Regions from separate parts of the Homo sapiens genome. Here all the other regions are linked to region 1. Evidence: promoter capture Hi-C in 16 types of primary human blood cells and fetal thymus (Javierre and others, 2016). All regions are on one chromosome and are shown on one strand. The core of a region is centred on a gene start or on the middle of the fragment in contact, and the rest is flanking DNA. Distances in the headings are between cores, read along the strand shown. Region 1 holds the start of THEM6 (thioesterase superfamily member 6). Region 2 overlaps ZFP41 (ZFP41 zinc finger protein). Region 3 has its middle 6.0 kb from the start of ZFP41.

Evidence for each region. The method cuts DNA at HindIII sites, captures the fragments that hold promoters and counts their contacts. A CHiCAGO score of 5 or more calls a contact.
Region 2: a contact is called between a fragment that was not itself captured here and the fragment with the promoter of THEM6 in region 1, in 1 of 17 cell types (neutrophils). The highest score is 9.2, in neutrophils.
Region 3: a fragment that was not itself captured here is called in contact with the fragment with the promoter of THEM6 in region 1 in 1 of 17 cell types (neutrophils); the score reaches 5.8 in neutrophils.

Annotation. Positions count from the first base shown.
Region 1 is chr8:142,725,631-142,728,472 of GRCh38, reverse strand. THEM6 (thioesterase superfamily member 6) reads right to left here and starts at 1,250. Exons shown (of 2, transcript NM_016647.3): 1 at 614-1,250. The coding sequence starts at 1,126. LNCOC1 (lncRNA associated with ovarian cancer 1) reads left to right here and starts at 1,500. Exons shown (of 3, transcript NR_038925.1): 1 at 1,500-1,751. RefSeq lists silencers at 505-754, 1,055-1,494 and an enhancer at 1,525-1,744. The HindIII fragment of the contact is 9,584 bases long and covers 1-2,842 here.
Region 2 is chr8:143,262,541-143,265,382 of GRCh38, reverse strand. ZFP41 (ZFP41 zinc finger protein) reads right to left here. Exons shown (of 3, transcript NM_173832.6): 3 at 2,678-2,842. Among named protein-coding and RNA genes, the nearest start is that of GLI4, 3.5 kb to the left of the region's middle. The HindIII fragment of the contact is 579 bases long and covers 1,146-1,724 here.
Region 3 is chr8:143,239,512-143,242,353 of GRCh38, reverse strand. No RefSeq gene overlaps it. Among named protein-coding and RNA genes, the nearest start is that of ZFP41, 6.0 kb to the left of the region's middle. The HindIII fragment of the contact is 4,207 bases long and covers 1-2,842 here.

The sequences.
Region 1 (2,842 bases), core at 1-2,500:
CCCAGGGCCCCAGGTGCCATGCTGCAGGGGCGGTTCTGCCCTGCTGGGAGGAGCGAGCCCTGGGAGGTGCATGGCCCTCCTCTCTCCAACTGCAGAAAGGCCAGAAGGCTTTCAGCTACTCGGCTCAATACCTCAACCCCAAACCCAGGTGACCAGAACCCAGCCCTTCAGCTCTAAGCTGTGTGAAAGGGGGGCTCAGGTCCTCGGGAACTCCTAGGAACCTCTTCTAACTGATCACCTCTCCAACCTATATTCAGGACCAAGGACCAGAGAGGTCAACACTCCAGCCACAGAACAGAGTACCAGGAGAGAGGAGAGGGGTGAACACGAAACCGTGAGGGGCCAGGTTAAGAAATGGCAGGAGGGAAGCACGCTAAGCCCGACTATGAAGAGTTGATTCGGGGACCCTAGGAACCCCCACGAACAAAGGCATCAGTGAGGAATGCCCCCGGTAGAGAGGGAGGGGCGGGAGCGGTAAGAGGCAGGACTCCAGCAGTATCCGAAAGAGGTGCAGGCAGCGGGCCTTCCCTAGGGGAGGGGGCCAGGGACTAGGAGGAGCCCCCGGAGGTCCCACAAAGGCCGTGCTCCGGGGCCAGGGGCGGGGGCCGCTCACCCTGCGCTGGCACAGGTGCTGCACGACGCGCTCGGGTGAGGTGCCCAGCAGGTGCTGCCGGAAGCGCAGCAGCGCGCACACGAAGCCGTCCCGCAGGCTGACAAAGCGCGCCTCCAGGTAGAACGCGCGGTCGTCCCAGCCCAGCAGGCGGGTGCGCACCTCGAAGGGCTCCAGCAGGCGCAGCGAGCGGCGGTGGCGCGCGCACGAGGCCGCCAGCACCGTGTGCGCCCGCAACTCCCTCAGCGCCCCGAGCACCCCGCAGCGGGTCAGGTGCGCGACGCGCGCAAAGTCGGCCTCGCGCAGGTAGCGCGCGTTGTTCATGTGCAGCAGCAGGTCCAAGTCCGAGGGCAGCACGCGGCCCGGGAAGCGCTGCTCAGCTAGCAGGTCACGGACGCGCGGCTGCAGCAGGCGCGCGCGCAGCACGGCGCACGGAAGGCGCACCAGGTACCAGACGTCCAGCAGCGCAAAGACAGCGAGCCCCAGGGCCAGCAACGCCACCAGCAGCCCCAGCATAGCGGCGGCGGCGGGCGCGGGGTCCTGCGGAGTCCGTGGCGCCGGTGCCGGTGTCCGCGGCGCTGGTTACGGTGCCCGCCAGGCCTCCTGGGAACTCACGAGCGCAGCGCGCCCGGAGCGAACCACAGCGCGAGGGCGGCCGAGGGGGAGGGGCCCGGAGCCCCGCCCACCGTGGCGCGACCTTCTCAGCGCCCTACGTGGTCCGTCCCGCCGTCCAGGCCCGCGCCACTTTCGCGTTCCCTGGGGCGGGGCGGGCGGCGCGCTGAGCGCCACAGCGGCACCTGGCGGCCGTGCGCGGCGCTGCAGGCGCGAGGGTGCACGCGCGCCCCGGCGTCTCCGCCTTCCCAGCAGCGCGAGACCCTCGCCAGGCTCTGAAGACGCGGCCTGGCCCTGGCCGTTCGGCCCTTCGTCTGAGCGCAAAGGCTCCAGCACCTCCGCGGCCGAAGCCGCGGGACTTTTCGTGGAAAATGGGACCCAGCCCGATCGCCAGCGGCGCTGCAGCGGACTCTGCGGGAACCTAGCTTCTGCTCCAGGACCTCCAGGGCCACCCCAGCTCGCAGGGCGTTCGCAGCGGCTCAGGGCGAATCACGCTCATGGTCCCCGTGCGCATTTTCAGCCCCAGCCGGTACCTCCTTACTCGCCCTCACGACATTCATTCCACCCCCTAAAGGTCCTGCCAACCCCAGGCTCTTCCCGAGCATTCCCGCCCTTCCTCCCTTTTGAAACCGGAGCAAATCACGGCCGGGCGGAAGCGGGGGAGCCCGGGTGAGAGTCAGTGACTCAGCTGCGGACTCCAAGTGTCGCCGGAGGCCCTGGGGCGCAGGCCCAGCGGGCTGTCGCACAGCTCGGCTGTCCTGTGCCCCTTCCTGACGAGGCTGGGGAGGAAAGGCGGCCCAGAGAAGGCCGGACCAGCTCTCCCCGTCAGCCCCAGGCTCTCGAATGACAGCGGATGCCAGCGACCGGGGATGGGGTCCCGGAATTGCTGGGTTAAACAAGCTCCGGATTCAGGCCTGGGCCTGGGCTGGGGTTCCAGGGTTCTGGACCGCCCTCAAAGAAGGAGCTCCCTGGGGCGGCACCTGGCTCTGCTTGATAGCCCCAGGGACAGGGAGCTCACTACCTATCAGGGCAGCTCCCCCAGTGCCGAGACCAGCTCGGTCCTGGAGACCCTAACCCAGCGGTGCTAGAGGAATTAAAGATACACACAGAAATATAGAGGTGTGGAGTGGGAAATCAGGCGTCTCACAGCCTTCAGAGCTGAGAGCCTCCAACAGAGATTTACCCACGTGTTTATTCACAGCAAGCCAGTGATAAGCACAGTTTCTACAGATTATAGATTAAAAGTACCCCTTAGGGAAACAAAGGGATGGGCCAAAATAAAGGGGTGGGTTTGGCTAGTTATCTGCAGCAGGGGCATGTCCTTAAGTCACAGATGGCTCATGCTATTGTTTGTGGTTTAAGAACGCCTTTAAGCGGTTTTCTGCCCTGGGTGGGCCAGGTGTTCCTTGCCCTTATTCCGGTAAACCCACAACCTCCCAGCGTGGGCATCATGGCCATCATGAACATGTTACAGTGCTGCAGAGATTTTGTTTATGGCCAGATTTTGGGGGCCTATTCCCAACACCCTAGCATTGCTCACACTTGTCCCTGAAGTGTCACCTTGTCGTAGCTGGGCTCTGAGCCCTCTGCCCCAGGGAGGGGTGGCCTTTTGGGCTGAAG
Region 2 (2,842 bases), core at 186-2,685, 540 kb before region 1:
TGGCCAGGCTGGTCTTGAACTCCTGACCTCAGGTGATCCACCCGCCTCAGCTTCCCAAAGTGCTGGGATTACAGGCGTGAGCCACTGCGCCCAGCTCCTCTTTTTTCTTTTCTTTTTTTTTTTTTTGAGACGGAGTCTCGCTCTGTGGCCCAGGCTGGAGTGCAGTGGCGCGATCTTGGCTCACTGCAAGCTCCGCCTCCCGGATTCATGCTATTCTCCTGCCTCACCGTCCTGAGTAGCTGGGACTACAGGCGCTCACCAACTTACCCAGTCTCAGGTATTCCTTTATAGCAGTGCAAAATGGACAAACACAGAACTACATCAGGAGAGCGGCGGACGACAATGCAATTGACTCGATGACAGGCTGCAGCTGCATTGCACCAGGCTGTGCAGACTCATTTTTGGGGGCAGCTGTGTCTTTGTATGTAGTTCTTGACGTCCTGTCACACGCACAGGCTGTTCTGTCACACACACAGGCTGTTGTCACCAGCTCCCTGTGCATCCAGCGCATCACGGGAAGCTGAGTCACCCAAGCTACCGTCCATGTCGGCTGACCCATGAGAAGCTGTGGAGCGTCTCACTCCCCAGGCCCTTTGGACAAATCCTCAGCCTGGCCAGCTCACAGGAGTGAAGGGAGATGGGAACGGGTGTAATCAGAGTGGAAGAATCCCCTTCCCCCACCAGGGAGGTGTGAAGGTGACGGGCAGGGCTTTGGAGGGAGTGCAAAGGTTGCTGATTTAATGAGCTCGGAGCCAGCAGCCAGTCTGGTCTGTTGGAGCAGCAGGTCCCCGCTCCTCACCTCGAGCAGGGTTTTGTTGGGTATTCACTGTAAATAATGAGCTAGTGTTTGTTATGCTGGGAGGAGGGGTTCCAGCCCAAACAGCCCCAGAGCCCCTGGTCCTAAGACGTGGGAGTCGGCCCACAGCCAGCCCCCCCAGCCTGTTGTCTTGATTTGTCCTCTTGGACTGTGGATTAGAAAAGGCCTCCATGGGCTTCTTTTGTTGAGATCGGGGAATCCAGTGCCTGTTCAGATACCCACACAGGCATGGCCTGCTCCAGCCAGTGCTGCTGGGGTTGGGGTGAGGGTGCCATCTGGACGGGCAGTGCCCTTGTCTCTAGGGGTCCCTGTGGGAACCTTCAAAGCTTCCCTGGCAGGAGGGCTGGTCAGAGACCCCGAGCCACTGGAGTAGAGAGGCTGAGAGCACTTCCTAGACCACACCTGGAGATGAGGGGCTTAGAGGAGTGGCCAGGCTTAAGGTCCAAGAAGGCTTCTCTAAGGGGCAGCATCAGAGAGAGATAGGGGTTGGAGCAGGAAGGAGGGAGGGGAGGCAGCAGAAGGGAAGGGCCAGCCCATCACAGAGAGGCAGGAGGGGCGCAGGGGCAGAGGTCTGATGCCTGAAGGAGTTGCCTGGGGTTCGAGTTTGGAAGACCAGGCAGGGGAGTGTGGTGAGCAAGGGGAGGACAGAACGGGATGGGGACAGACCGAACAGCCTTGACACCTCCACTGGGGGCTCAGACGTCATTCTCAGGGCACTGCGGGGCACAGGGGTCTGCAGGGAGGGAGGGAGGAGAGCTGACATGCACTGAAGATCTGCCTGGGGCTGTGGGGTAGAGAAGAGCAGGACAGAAGGGAGAGGGGGTCAGTGGCTGCAGTCCCCTGCACGTGACACAGCTGGCAGAAGTCCGCCTAAGTCCCAGGCCGGGATGCGGATGATGAGGAAGCTTTAGGCCTGGGCTGGTGGGGCAAAGACGGGGCCACTCTGGGTGTTGTCCTCAAGAGTGGAGAAAGGCAGTCAAGCACACTTGCCTCTCGCCAGCGCCAGCCACCGTGTCGCCTTGCTGGCTTGGTTGCAGGGGAGGGAGAGCTGGGAGGGTTCTGGTTAAGTGTGTGAAGGCATGACCAGTCTCCATCCCCACATCTCCAGCCACCGCAGAGGCTTGTTCCCGCACCGCTCCATGCCTTTCCAGCTTCTGGAACCCCAGGCGTCTCTGGGCGGTTCCCTGGGGCCTTGAGAGCCACCTTTCCCGTCCTTTTCTTTGTCGTCACAGGGTCTAAATCTGTATCTCTCACCTGCAGCACCTCTGGCATCTGGGCAGGACCCCCGCCTCTGCACACCAGATTCCGGTGGTGCCCCCGCCCAGCTGTGACCGCCAACACGGTCCCGGACATTGCCGAGTGGGCCCCAGGGGCAGAAGTACCCCTGGTTGAGAGCAACTGCCCTGACGAAGGAGGTGCGAGCCGGGGAACAGAGGACCAGACAAAAGTGAGTGCTGTTTGGAACTCAGAGGGCCTGGAGAAGGGCTGAAGACAGGGCCTGAAGAAGGCGTTCAGGAACCCCGGGGCCTCCTCTGGGGCATCCTGAGTGCAGGCACTAGGCCACCTAATGAACCCTTAGCTTCCCAGGTATCCGGGGCCAGAAAGGCTGAGAGCATTTCCGCACTGCAAAGGGTTGCTCCCATTGTGAGTTAGTGAACAACTTTCTCATTTATGTGTCAGTCTCCTGTGAGTCTGGCTAATGGGGAGTGGTCTTGTGGAGACCCATCACAGGCAGCGACCAGCCAGGGTCCTGTGGTCCTGGGAAGCAGCACCTGCACTGTTCCCTGGGAGGAAGCCGGTAGCCTTCGTGGGGTCGCTGACTGCATCCCCAGAGTGCAGAGAGCTCAATGAAGACAGCACTCGAGTCAGAAATCAATGTTTACTGCAGAGAACACAGAAGCCAGCAAGCAGTAGGCAAGGGAGGCGTCGCAGTGAGTGTGTCGGGCAGGCTGGGAACCAGCGCAACGGCCCACGTGGACCGAGGACTCACGCAGAGCAAGTCACAGAAAGCGCAGCTGAAAACAA
Region 3 (2,842 bases), core at 151-2,650, 510 kb before region 1:
CTTAGTGCCTGTTATTTTATTTATTTCTCTATTATTTATTTATTTTTTGCAGGGGGTGAGGGGAGTCAGTGGAGAAGGGTGCTGTGAGGTTTGATTTTTTTTTTCTTTTTTTTGAGATGGAGTCTTGCTCTGTCGCCCAGTCTGGACTGCAGCAGCGTGATCTCGGCTCACTGTAGTCTCCACCTCCAGGGTTCAAGGAATTCTCCTGCCTCAGCCTCCCAAGTAGCTGGGACTACAGGCGTGCACTACTGTGCCCGGCTAATTTCTGTATTTTTTGTAGAGATGGGGTTTCACCATGTTGGCCAGGATGGTCTTGATCTCCTGACCTCGTGATCTGCCTGCCCCTGCCTCCCAAAGTGCTTGGGTTACAGGTGTGAGCCACTGTGCCTGGTCGATGTTTGACTTTTTAAAAAGGTCTTTTGTCTTTCAGCATCTTAATTTCCCCTTCTTGCTTCTTTTTCTCTTTAGTACCTGACTTTCAAAGGCTGCACCTCCCTAACTTTTTTTTTTTTTGAGACGGAGTTTCACTCTTGTTGCCCAGGCTGGAGTGCAATGGCACAATCTGGGCTCACTGCAACCTCCGCCTCCTGGGTTCAAGTGATTCACCTGCCTCAGCCTGCCGAGTAGCTCGGATTACAGGCACCCACTACCACGCCCAGCTAATTTTTTGTATTTTTAGTAGAGACAGGTTTTCACCATGTTGGCCAGGCTGGTCTTGAACTCGTGACCTCAGGTGATCCACCCACCTTGGCCTTCCAAATTGCTGGGATTACAGGGGTGAGCCACTGCACCCGACTACTCCTCCCTAACTTTTAACCCTCTTCTCTCCTGCGTTACCTTCCCAAGACTATCCTCCTGTGTCCCACAGTCTTTTACTATTTTGGCTACCAAGTCTCACTCTGTTGCCTCAGCTGGTCTAAAACTCCTGGGCTCCAGCAGTCCTCCCACCTCAGCTTCCCAGAGTGTTGGGATTACAGTCGTGAGCCGCTGCACCTGTTCCATAGTCATTTTAAATTTCTTTCCAAAATGTAGACACTTTTCTGTATTTTGGCACTCAGATGGACTTTCTTTTTCTGGAAAATGTTTTGAGAGCAACCTCAGGCCCACAGCCAGTTCCTTTTCTCTCTTCTGTGCAGTTTTCCTGGGTGGCCCTTACTTTGTGAAGGTCTGTGCAGGACACTGGAGAGAGAGCTCACTGGGATTTTGTGTTTTCTTTTCTTTTCTTTTTTTTTTTTTGAGACAGATTTTCGCTCTTGTCCGCCAGGCTGGAGTCCAGTGGTGCAATCTCGGCTCACCGCAACCTCCGCCTCCCGGGTTCAAAAGATTCTCCTGCTTCAGCCTCCCAAGTAGCTGTGATTACGGGCACGCACCACCACATCCAGATAATTTTGTGTTTTTAGTAGAGACGGGGTTTCTCCATGTTGGTCAGGCTGGTCTTGAACTCCCAATCTCAGGTGATCCACCCACCTCGGCCTCCCAAAGTGCTGGGATTACAGGCGTGAGCCACCGCGCCTGGCCTGCGTTTGCTTCTTTTTCCCTTTTTAATGCGGCTACGAGAACCTTAGCAGTGACCCCAGGACTGCTGTGCTGAACTCCTGAACCGCAGTGTTCGCTTCTTTACTGCCCAAGGATAAGAGCGTCAGCTCCACCAGGGTGCTTCACAGACAGCGGGCGCTCAGCTAGTGCCTGTGGACTGATTGACTGGCTGACTGATGAGCCCTGGGGTGCGGGTCCTCCTGGGGCCCAGGACTTGCACTGGAACCCCTGTGGGCATTGAGCCTGGGATACCAGCCTCAGTGGGTGACTGAGCCACTGACACTGCCCCTGGAGAGCCCATCGCCCTGGTGCCCTGTGCCTGTGGCATCCTTCTCCGCAGCGGCTGGCACAGGCAACAGCTGTGGCTGAGATCCTCCCGGCATCCTGGGCACAGGCATCAATCACCTAGTTTCGTGCTTGACTCACTGCTGGTGGTGTCTCCACTTTGCAGATAAAACAATGAAGGCTCAGAGGGTTTAAGAAACTCGACAGTGTCAAAGCACTGGGCCTGGACATCAGCACCACTGCTGGCTGTGTGCCTTGGGATGGTCAGTAGATTTCCTGTCAAATGGGGCAAGATGATAGCACCTGCCCTGTGGGGTCATTGTGAAGGCTACGTGAAAAGTCCTCACAAAGCCCTTAGTGCAGTACCCACTTGCTAAACTTGGCTTGTAATTTATAAGTTATTTTAAAATGGGGGCAATGTGCCCACTGGCTGCACCCATGGCCGTCTCGGGAGCTGCCATTGTCAGTGACTGGTGTGGGGCCAATCAGCACCTCTGCCCTCATTTCACTCTCTCTCCAGCCCAAACGTTCAAGGGGCTTAAAGAATCTTCCCACTGGATGGACTGAGCCATCCTAAAACCATCCTAAAACAGCGCCACACTTTTAGAAGCCAGAATCTAACTTTTAGAAGTTAGAAAGTTTTGATTCCGGTCGGGCGCGGTGGCTCACGCCTGTAATCCCAGCACTTTGGGAGGCCAAGGCAGGTGGATGATGAGGTCAGGAGTTTGAGACCAGCCTGACCAACACGGCGAAACCCCGTCTCTACTAAAAATACAAAAAAAATTAGCCGGACATGGTGGCGGGCACCTCTAATCCCAGCTACTTGGGAGGCTGAGGCAGGAGAATCGCTTGAACCCAGGAGGCCGAGGTTGCAGTGAGCTGAGAATGTGCCACTGTACTCCAGCCTGGGCGATAGAGCAAGACTCTGTCTAAAGAAGAAAAAAAAGTGAGTTTTGATCCCAAGGACATTCCAGTCATACTAATGGATCCGTCAGGGTTGCATCAGAGGAACAGAGCCCAC